Linked DNA regions of Homo sapiens: region 2 is linked to region 1. The links are contacts of gene promoters, found by promoter capture Hi-C in blood cells and fetal thymus (Javierre and others, 2016). All regions are on one chromosome and are shown on one strand. Each heading gives the region's core, a stretch centred on a gene start or on the middle of the fragment in contact. The rest is flanking DNA. Distances are from core to core; before and after follow the strand shown. Region 1 holds the start of NTNG1 (netrin G1). Region 2 has its middle 120 kb from the start of LINC01709.

Region 1 (5,768 bases), core at 1,261-3,760:
TCAAAGTTGAATCCAATTTTCTTTTTTCCAAGTGACTTGATGCCTTTGTAACTAAAACTCTCCAAATTTTTATGACACTTAGAAATCCTATCAAATAAATGTGTAATGGTTTAACTTTTTAAACAAATTACCTGAATATTTTTCAGAATAATAATGGAAGCAAAAATAGGTATTTGCACCACTTGCAAATATACAAAAGGAAACTGCAAAATACATTTGCCTCCTCCTAAAAAGGCTAACCTGAATCATTTTAACACATATACCCATTGAAAACTGACAAAACAAAAATATTAACAGGAAACCAGCTTTATGTTCAAATAAACTGTTTCCATGCAAAAGTTTTAAGATTATCCGTCTTAAATTCCACAGTAAGGAAATACCACCAAATTAGTAGTGCAGTATATAGAATCCTGAATGCCTTCATGGTGGTCTTCAGTGGGTGAAATATATCTCATTTCACGGCATCCAGAAAAGAAAATATATCCCTGGAACAACATTACATGTGAAATACTTGATGCACATTTTTCCTTGCATGTTGATCCACATGCAGAGATCCAAATTTTATCTTAATGAAAAATCGAAAGTTGCTTATCTTCAAAAAGAATCTTGGACAGTTACTGAGCTGCTTTTCCTTTGCCAAAGAGAAAGGGAGGCGGGTAAGGCATTCAAAGTGACACAGTTCAAAATACTTAATGAAATGTGGAATTGCTAATTCCCTCACTAGAGATCCTCCTCAAGGGACAAACAAAACAGAAAAGCCTCCCCTGAAAAAAAAAAAAATTATTTTTTGGAAAACTTTCCAACAAGCTTAACTACTAAGCATATCTGAATAAGTGATTTTAATGGAAGATCTTCCTGGGTTTTTTTTTTTTTCATTTCTGTAAGATAAAACAACTTTTAGTATTTTCAGTCATAAAACAGGGCCTTATTTCTAGAGCAATTCTACTGCCAGATTCACCATATGTTTAGTGGAGTTCTGAATCTTACTCAGAATTTTCCATTCCAAAGATTGACAATTTGTTATGAGGAGTGGCTCCATTATTCCCTGTATAAAGAGAAGAATGGGTGAGAGAGGAGGACCGTCTACTCACTGGAAATCTGTACCTGATGCAACTATAGGAGCTCAACCTGCGACTTTTCCAAGTAAAGTTGCTTTAAAATCCCCGCTAGGAATTTTCTTCCCTTGCCCTGTAAGATGACAGCCTACTCTTAAGTGGATTTCTGAAGGAAAAAAAAAAAAAGTCCCCGGGTGAGGGTACTAAAATTAACAGCAGAGGGCGCAGTTTCTTTTTATATCTAAGTTTTTCCTTGTATGAATCACTTAATTGGTTATTTTAGGCCCAATAATATTCAGTATTATTTGTATTATATATAGATATCCACAGATCCATACAGGAGTGCAATTCAGTGTCCCTAGCCGAATCCATCAACCGATTAATATGATGCCAGTAAAGAATATGAGAGAATATTCCAAACAGCATCCCTACACCAAGTCTTCCTCTTTCAATTTCCCTTTCTCCCCAGCTGCACAACATGGGATAGTAATGTTTTAATCTAGCACCAATAAAGGCGATTAAAAGAAGGGACTTCAAAAGCTCTCGATGTGGCCACCAGATCCCCAAGGCCGGCAATAGGGCAAGTGTTTTTTTGTTTTTTTTGTTTGCTTTTCCCCAAACAAATATAATTGGCGAAAGAAAGAAAAAATAACGACAAGCCGCCTGAGCGATGTGTGTGGCCAGGTGTGCGTGAGAGAGGGAGAGCGCGGGGCCCCTGTCAGTCGGCGGATGGAGGCTCAGACCCCACGCCTGGGCTCCGGACACAACAAGAGGACGCATCACCGGCCCGGGGCGCACCCCCGGGAAGACTTGTGTGTGGGTGTGAGCGTGTGCCGCTGTGTGTGCGCGTAGGGCTCCGCGCGCTGCCTCCTCGGGGCGCTTTACAAAGTTCCTCGCCCACCCGGAGCCTTCCCTCCCGCCTGTGCATCGCAGCGGGTGGGGCGGGGGGCGGCGGGGGGTGGGGAAACCCGGGGGAGAGGGGCACGGGCGAGAGGCTCGGGTCGCAGTAGGAGAGGCGAGCCGCAGGCACTTACCGTGTGGCTCGTTTGCCCTTGCGCCGGGCGGGAGCCGAGCCGACGGCGCGGGGCGGCGGCCCTGCGCAGCCAGCCTGGTCCGCCTCGGGCGGCGGCCGCAGCAGCGGAGCCCGCGGGCGGCGTACGGGCGGAGGGCGGCAGCTCCCGCGGAGCCTCCTCCCCAGGCGGGAGCGGGCGGAGCGGGAGGGGTGGGCGTGAGGACCCGAGCCGCCGCCACCGCCGCAGCCCGGGGATTCCGATCGCGCCCGGCCGCCGGCGGGAGAGGACCCCGAGGACCGAGAACCCAGCGCCGGCCCGCCACTCCCCGCCGCTTAATTACCTTCGCCTCCGCCCCCGGGGGGAGCCTCCTGCAAGTCGCCCCCTCTCGGAGCCCGCACCCAGAGGGGGAATTCCTTCCCGTTGACGTCCTCTTCCGAAATGCAAAAGATCAGTGACTTTGACAGGTAGATGAGGGGGAGGGAGTAAGGGTGGGCGGAGAGGAAGAGAGGATGAGAAAGGTGCCTCTCCCTCCAAAAATATAGTGATATTAATAATGAGATCTCAGCCTTCGGAGGTCGTGCCAGCCCAGTCCCCTGCTCGCCGGCTCTCCTCCGCGCCTCCTCGCTCCGCTGCCTCTGACACTTCTCGCCTTAAACTTTTACTGAGGGATATTTTTTCTTTTTTCTATTTCTATTTCTTTTTTTTTTCCTCTTTTTTTTTTTTTCAAGCCGCAGGACGATTTTCTGGTTCCCGGGGATCAGAACCAGCGGCCAGGCGGTTCTATGCCGCTTGGCACCGCTTTCATTTTATTTCAGATGAAGACGTTGAGCTTAGTCAGAAGGGGCATAAATCAGGACAATTAGCATTGGCGCCAAGAAGATCCTCTAATACCAATTTCGCCCGGGTTTCCTTCGCGCATTCCTCCACTCAAGTCAGAAATGTCACTGCACATAGCACTGATGGCAGTGAGACGCGACGCACCCAAAGTCCGTTTGATGAAATATACATGGCCCACGACGCTTCTGGATTGCGGCTCCCGGACTCCCCGCCCCCACCAGCGGCTCCCGGCCGGGACCCTGCTCCGAGCGGGCAGCGAGCTCCTGGCAAACTTAGGGGCCAGTGCCAATTAAAGAGTGAGCGCGAGAGCCGGAAAGAGGAGCGGCAAAGAAGCAAGCCCGGGGAAGCCGCAGCCCTCGGAGGGGTGGCATGTACGTTTCACTTAAAAAGCAGATCTTCTTCTGCAACTGCCAGCAAGTGGAAGGATAGCAAACCTTATACTACCTCGAGACCTGTGCGCTCCGAGCGGTCCTAACTCCGTCCCGCTCGCTGTTGCTGTTGCTGGTGCTGCTCCGGCTGCAGCTGCTGCCGCTCCACGACCTCGGGGCGCTGAGGCAACAGGGCCCCCTCCCTCTACTCCCCATCCCCCCCGGCTCCTCCACAGAAGCGCCGTTTCCAGTAACTCCTCGTGTACCTCCCACTTCTGCCGCCGTCCATCCCACCCCTCTCTCTTCTGTCCCCTCCCCAAACCGTTCCCAAGCACACCCTTCGCCGCTGGAAGTGATCACAATGTTGTTTTTCAACAAGCACTTCCTTTGCCCGGAGGCCCCTACAGCCCTAGACTGGAAACTCCTCCTTTAGAAATTCATTCCCCTTTAAAAAGTTGAAGTTCAAGGGAGAGCTGCGCATTTCAGGCTTCCTTGCCTTTTCTAAGAGAAAGACAAATGCTCCGATGCTCCAGGCTTCATTCCCCACCAAGGCGGGCTCAGACTCACCTGGGATCACTCTTAGCTACACATTAACGTCAAACAGAAACAAATCCGAATTTAGATAAGATAGGGAGACTTCCATTAGAAAGAAAGACTATTGCAACAGGGAAAACGCTCTGATCTCAGAAATCTGCAAACCTCTCAAAACCAAACAGAAATCGGCCTTTTTTTTCTATATATATAAGGGGGAGCAAGCAATAGGCAAAGCCAAGTGGATGGGGGAAACAACTCACTTCAAGACCCTCTTGGTTGAACAAGAAATGTGTCTCTGTGGTCCAAGAATTTGGAAGATAAGCTAACAATGGTGAATGTTTCACATTTTAGTTCTTGCTCAGATTTGGGGGGCAAGCTAAATTCCAGGGACCTGCTGGAGAGAAGCCTGACTCATGTTTGGTCAAGGCAAAGTGGCGGGTGGGGGGGGGGTGGAAGAAATGGGCAATTGTGAACACTTAGTCACTATGTGTCCCACAATTAAGGCAGGAGGCTGAGTAATTGGGTCATTTTTCTGTGATGACTGGGGGTGGTGTGGTAAAAGGATGGATGGGGGAGAAGTTTGTTGAGTTGGGCCTATAACCAGGCCCTCCTTGGCCCTGGGCAGCCAGGAAGTGGGCAGGGATTTCAGGCACCCCCAGCCTTCCCTCTAACACCTAAGAGGCCACAATAAGTCGCCTTCGGAATCTCTGAGTGCAGGAATCTGGGATTCATGTGCTTTCCTCTTTCCCACCTTTGTCCTGTAGTGCTGACATTGCAAAAAAGAGTTACCTGCAGGGCTGAAACTCCTACCAAGGGTTCTTAGACAGTGGCCAAGTCTGGCTCTTCCCCCTGTCTCTAGCCATGCTCCTCCAGGTTTAAAACATACTGACTATATGGAGATGTTACTCACCACCTAATCCTCCTTCACAGGCCCTTAGATCCCAGTTCTTTCTATGGGAGCCCTTTGCAATAGGATATAATAAACAATACCAAGAGTGGCCTTCTTATTTCTCGTTGGCCCCTTGGCCTAGATCCTGAAATACAGACAGTTCTCAGCCTTTCCTCTCTCTTGCCCTTCTCTCTCAAGCCAAGAAAGCCTTTCTGAACTCTCATCCTCTGCTTTATCTGGTCATTTAAGGCCCTTCTGTAGTAAAAATAAAATAAATCTATGCAGAGATTAGAGAACTCTCTTCTGGAATATACCAAGATCTTTGTGATTTTGGCTCCCAACCTGGAAAAATACTTGTTTTCATCTGTCAAAATCTTGGAACTGACCTCCCTTCCTCTCTTCCTGTATCATCCCTCATTCCCAGGATTCCTTTGACTATGAGGCAATCCCAAGTAAGTGTGATATGTAAATGGGAACCTCTCCAGTTAGGTAACACCTCCCACTACAGGAGTGGGAGAGTCTTTCAGAGGTGAGTTTTTCTGTGGAACATGTGCTCTGACCTTTGCAGAAGCTCAGTGAATCACCAACTAAACATGTGGATCTAAACTCAAGGAAGTAAATCAGAATCATCAGAGACTTTTCAACATTAAAACCCCTTCCCTTCCAGATCTTGTTCTCTCCTCCAGCAGCAATCAGGTGGTAAGGACTTTTTCTCCAAAAAAGCAGTTTAAGTGGATTTGATATACTTCCCCAAACTAACGTGCATATATTAAACCAGCTTTCCTCAATATACCTTTGCATATTTGTTTATATGATATACACTGATCAGAAATTGACTTTAGAGTTTTCATTGCCTCCAAGATAAATCATTTAGGGGATACCTACCTTTTCTTATCATTCTTTGCTTTTTCTAGCCATATATATATTTAACTTTCTTTGGAAAAAACTATTTTTCCGTTTTTATTTAACCTTTCAACTCTACTTTTTTTTTTTTTCTTTTTCCTTTTGGAGAAGAATGGTTTGATCTTTCAGTTCTCTGGCTTTAGATCTTTGGCTGGTTTCTACACATTCC
Region 2 (5,768 bases), core at 818-3,317, 5.6 Mb after region 1:
GACTACAAATCAAAGACTGTAAAAAAAAGACAAAGAAGGTCACTATATATAATGATAAAAGGGTCAATTCAGTAAAAGGGTATAACAGTTATAAATATCTCTTTATCTGACACTGGAGCACCAAGTATATAAGTAAACATTAATAGATCTAAAGGAAGAGAGAGACAGATGGCAATACAATAACAGTAGGGGACTTCAATACCCCAGTCTCAGTAATGGACAGATCATCCCAACAGAAAATCAACAAATAAACATTGGAGTTAAGCTACACAATAGACCAAATTAGCCTAATTGACATTTACAGAACAATATACGCAACTGATATAGAATTCACATTCTTTTCATGAGTACTTAAAACATTCTCCAGAATAGACCATATATTAGGCCACAAAACAAGTCTCAGCAAATTCCAAAAAAGTAGAAATTATATCAAGTATCTTTCTGACTACAATTGAATTGAACTAAAAATTGTTAACAAGGGAAACCTCATAAAATACAGAAACATTTTGAAATTCAGCAACTTACTCCTGAATGAGCAATAGGTCAATGAAGAAATTAAGAAATAAATTTACATTTTTTAAACAATTAAAAATGGAAATACAACATAGCAAAATCTATGGGATACAGCAGAAGTAGTACTGAGAGGGAAGTTTGTATCAATAAATACCTATATCAAAAAGGTAGAAAGACTTCAAATAAACAACCTAATGATGCACCTTAAGGAACTAGAAAAGCAAAAACAAATCAAACCCAAAATTAGTAGAAGGAAAGAAATAATAAAAATCAGAGCAGAAATAAACAAAATTGAAACTAAAGGCAGATAATCAACAAAGTGAAAACTTGATTTTTTAAAAGACACACAAAATTGGCAAACCTTTAGCTAGATTAAGAAAAAAAAAAGAGAGAAGATCAAATAAATGTATTCAGAAGCCAAAAAAGGAGACACAACAACAGAGATCACAAAAATAAAAAGAATCATTAACAACTATTATGAACAACTATATGTCAACAAATTAGAAAACCTAGAAGAAATGGATAAATTCCTGAACGCATGCAACCTACTATGATTGAACCATGAATAAATAGAAAACCTTAACAAACCAGCAACAAATAACAAGATTGAAGCCATAATAAAAAGTCTCCCATAAAAGAAAAGCCTAGGACTTGATGGCTTTACCACAGAATTCTACCAAATACATTTTTGAAATCTAATGCCAACTCTACTCAAAATCTTTAAACAAATCAAAGAGGAGAGAATATTCTAAACTCATTCTATGAGGCCAGCATTGATACTAAAATCAGGCAAAAACATAACAAAAGAAAGAAAACTACAGGCCAATATCCCTGACGAACATAAACACAAAAATCCTCAATAAAATACTAACAAACCAAATTCAACAACACACTTAAAAAAGCACACACTGTGATCAAATGGGATTCATCCCAGAGATGCAAGGATTGTTCAACATACATAAATCAATAAACATGATACATCACATTATATGGTTTGGCTTTGTGTCACTACCCAAATTTCATACTGAATTGTAATTCCCAATGTTGGGGGAAGGACCTGGTGGGAGGTGACTGGAGCATGGGGGCATAGGTCCCCCTTGCTGTTCTCATGATAGTGGCTGAGTTATCATGAGATCTGGTTGCTTAAAAGTGTGTAGCACTTCCCCCTTCACTCTCTCTCTCCCCTGCTGCCATGTGAAGATGTGCTTGCTTCCCCTTCACCCTTCCATCATGATTGTAAGTTTCCTGAGGCCTGCCAGCCATGTTTCCTGTACAGCGTGCGGAACTGTGAGTCAATTAAACCTCTTTTCTTCATAAATTACCCAGTCTCAGGTAGTTCTTCATAGCAGTGTGAGAACCGACTAATACATTACATTAATACAATCAAGGACAAAAACTATGATCATTTCAATAGGTGCCAAAAAAGCATTCAGTAAAATTCAACATTCTTTCTGATAAAAACTCTCAACAAAGTGGGTATAAACGGAACATATCTCAAAATAATAAAGACTATCTATGACAAACCCACAGCTAACATCATATTAAACAGGTAAAATTAAAAGACTTTTCTCTAAAATCTAGAAGAAGACAAGGACATCCACCTTCATTAATTTTTTTTTTAAATAGAGATGGGGTCTCACTCTGTCACCCAGGCTGGAGTGCAGTGGTGTGATCATGGCTCACTGCAGCCTCAAACTTCTGGCCTAAAGCAATGTTTTCACCTCAGCCTCCCTAGTAGCTGGGACCACAGGTGCATGCCACCACACCCAGCTAAATTTTTTTTTTAACTTTCTGTGGAGACAGGGTCCCACAATGTTGCCAGGCTGGTCTTGAACCCTGGACTCAAACAATCCTCCCACCTTGCCCCCCCCCCCGCAAAATGCTGGGATTACAATCATGAGCCATTGTGCCTAGCCCTTTCTTACTTTTATTCAACATAATACTGGAAGTACTGACCAAAGCAATTAAGCAAGGAAAATAAATAAAACTTATACAAATTGGAAAAGAGGAAATCAAATTGTCTCTATTTGCAGATGACATAATGTTATACTTAGAAAAACCTAAAGATTCCATCAAAAAAACTGTTAAATTTAACTGATAAATTTGTTAAACTTGCAGAATACAAAATTAACATACAAAAATTAGCAGCATTTATATATGCCAACAGAAAACAATCTGAAAAATAAACCAAGAAAGCAATTCCATTTAACACAACTACAAATAATATAAAATACCTAGGAATCAATTTAACCAAAGTGAAACATCTGTACAAGGAAAACTTTAAAACACTGATAAAAGAAATTGAAGAGGACATGAAAAAATAGAAATACATTACATGCTCACAGATTGGAAGAATTAATATTGTGAAATGACAATTCTACCCAAAGCACTCTACAAATTTAAAGCAATCTTTACCAAAATACCAACGTTATTCTTCACAGAAATAGAAAAAACAATCCTAAAATTCATAAAGAACCACAAAATACCCCAAATAGCGAATGCAATCCTGAATCAAAAGAACAAAGCTGGAGGCATCATACGATTTGACTTCAAAATACACTACAACATGTACTACAAAGTAACCAAATAAGTATGGTACTGACATAAAAGGACATATAGACCAACAGAACAAAATAGAGAACCCAGACGTAAATGCATGTATTTATAGCCAACTCATCTTTGACAAAGGTGCCAAGAACATACAATGGAGAAAAGACATTCTCTTCAATAAATGGTATTGGGAAAACTAGATAACTATATGCACAAAAATGAAATTAGACCCCTATCTCTCACCACATATGAAAATCAAATCAAAATGGATTAAAGACTTAAATGCAAAACCTGAAACTACAAAAATACTAGAAGAAAACACTGGGGAAATGCTCCAGGACATTGTTCTGGGCAAAGATTTATCAAAAACACAGGGAGTAATGAATGCTGGTGAGGGTGTGTAGAAAGGGCAACCCTCATACACTGTTGCTGTGTGTATAAATTAGTAAGGCAGCTGTATGGAGTACAGCCTGTATGGAGGCTTCTCAAAAAACTTAAAATAGAACTAGTATATGGTCCAGCAATTTCACTACTGCATATATATCCAAAAGAAAGAAAATAAATATATTGAAGACATATCTGCATTCCCATGTTCATTGCAGCACTATTCACAATAGCCAAAATATGGAATCAACCAGTGTGCCCATAGATGGATGAATAAAGAAAATGTGGTATAGATACACAATGAAATATTACTGACCCATAAAAAGGAATGAAATCCTGTCACTTGCAACCACATAGATGGAAGTGGAGGTCATTATGTGAAATGAGACAATCACAGAAAGATAAATATCGCATGTTCTTGTTCAAATATGGGAGCTAAAAAAGTGGATCTCATGAAGATAGAGAGTAGATTGGTGGTTACCAGAAGCCAGGAAGGGTAGGAGAGAGGGAGGATGAAGAGAGTTTAAATAATGGGTATAAATATACAGTTTGATAGAAGAAATAAGACCTAGTGTTTGATAGATACCAACTGGACTACAGTTTACAATAATCTATTATATATTTCAAAAACTAGAAAAGAATGATTTGAATGTTTCTAACATAAAGAAAAGATAAATATTTAAGATGGTAGATATCATAATTACACTGATTTGATCTGTACACATTATATGAATGTATTAAATTTTCACATGTACCCCATAAATATGTACATATATATCAATTTTAATTTTTTTTTAAGAAGGAGAATTTAGAGTCTGAGGCAGGAAGACTGCTTAAGGCCAAGAGTTCGAGATCAGCATAGGCAACACAACAAGACCATCTCTAAAAGTATGAAGCAAATTCTCCAGGCATGGTGACCACACCTGTCGTCTACTCAGTGGGCTGAGGCAGGAGGATGGTTTGAGCTCAGGCATTCTAGGATGCAATGAACTATGATTGTGCCACTGCACTATAGCCTGGGAGACAGAGTGAGACCACATCTCTTAAATTAAAAAAAAAAAATTATAATGTGAAGCACTATCTATCTATCTATCTATCTATCTATCTATCTATCTATCCATCTATCTACCTATCTACCTACCTATCTAACTAACTAATCTGTCTATTATACAGGCAATTGGGGCTGCTAAATGAATCTGCTAAGAGATACAACCTGGTTAACAACTTAAAATTTAGTGTTTCAGATGATCTCTTCTACAGGGTAAAAATAAATTGTATCTCTACAGGACAAGTTTCTTTTGCATTGTCATGAGTGAGACTCATTTGAATACTATCAGTTTCTACAATTTAATTTCCTCTCCTACAGGGTTGTAAACTAGTCTGGACAGAGAAACGCAAAGGTACACACCCTATAAAGTCCCATTATCCCTAAAGGGAATCTCATTTAAACACTCCTCTAAAAGGACAATCATCTCTTTTGCCAATTTCTAAATCTTTGAATATTTTCTTCACAAATCTAACGTGAATTATGTAATCATTCCTTTTCCTGTATAATGGATCTATAGAAAATGAATGTTTTAATTGGCCTACTAGGCCCTCTTCTTTTGTATCAAGATGGTAATAAAACTTTGTCATATTCTCATAAATTGTCTGAAACATTTTCTTTTACAGATTTGTTAAATTTCAAACTGTTTAAGAAAATCTAACATGACAGCTTTTAATTTTACATTGAAATATCTAACTGATATTTTAATCTAAAAGGTATGAAAGAAATTAAGTTTGTGAGCATAACATAAATTTTAGGAAAACCCTATTTATATTTATAAGTTTGATTTGTCAGATTTACAAAATTTGCTTAAATGTTTAGAAAGATTATTTCTTAAAGCTTTAATTAAAAGCACTTTTACATAGTAATGTAAATGTTCTTAATGAATTATACACTGAAAAATGTTTAAAATGGTACACTTTATGTTATGTATATTTTATGATAATAGAGAAAGCACATTTACTTGTTTTTTAAAGTGTCTGGCACAACAAGACATTTAAAATGTTTCAATATAGTATAAAAAATTTAAGGGAATTTCAAGTAACTAAATTTGCAAATGGAGTTAATTGCTGAGAAAAATTTAATCTACTAATTTATGAATTATTAATATTAATTAATCAAAAATATAATCAAAAAAGCAAGTTGAAGATAATAATTCTTAGTTTTTAATACCAGATTTACAAATAAATTTAAATATTTTGATTTTGACCTAGAGAAATTAAGACATGAGACAGGAGAGAGCTAAGGAGAAACCAGATCACGGTAAGATTGAGTT

The links. Contacts are between HindIII fragments. The CHiCAGO score rates a contact against its expected background, and 5 or more counts as called.
Region 2: a contact is called between a fragment that was not itself captured here and the fragment with the promoter of NTNG1 in region 1, in 3 of 17 cell types (total CD4 T cells, total CD8 T cells and non-activated CD4 T cells). The highest score is 11.4, in total CD4 T cells.

What each region holds. Positions count from the first base shown.
Region 1 is chr1:107,137,781-107,143,548 of GRCh38, reverse strand. NTNG1 (netrin G1) reads right to left here and starts at 2,510. Exons shown (of 8, transcript NM_001113226.3): 1 at 2,409-2,510. RefSeq lists silencers at 1,816-2,095, 2,116-2,405 and an enhancer at 2,339-2,870. The HindIII fragment of the contact is 6,022 bases long and covers 810-5,768 here.
Region 2 is chr1:101,512,809-101,518,576 of GRCh38, reverse strand. No RefSeq gene overlaps it. Among named protein-coding and RNA genes, the nearest start is that of LINC01709, 120 kb to the left of the region's middle. The HindIII fragment of the contact is 6,534 bases long and covers 1-5,334 here.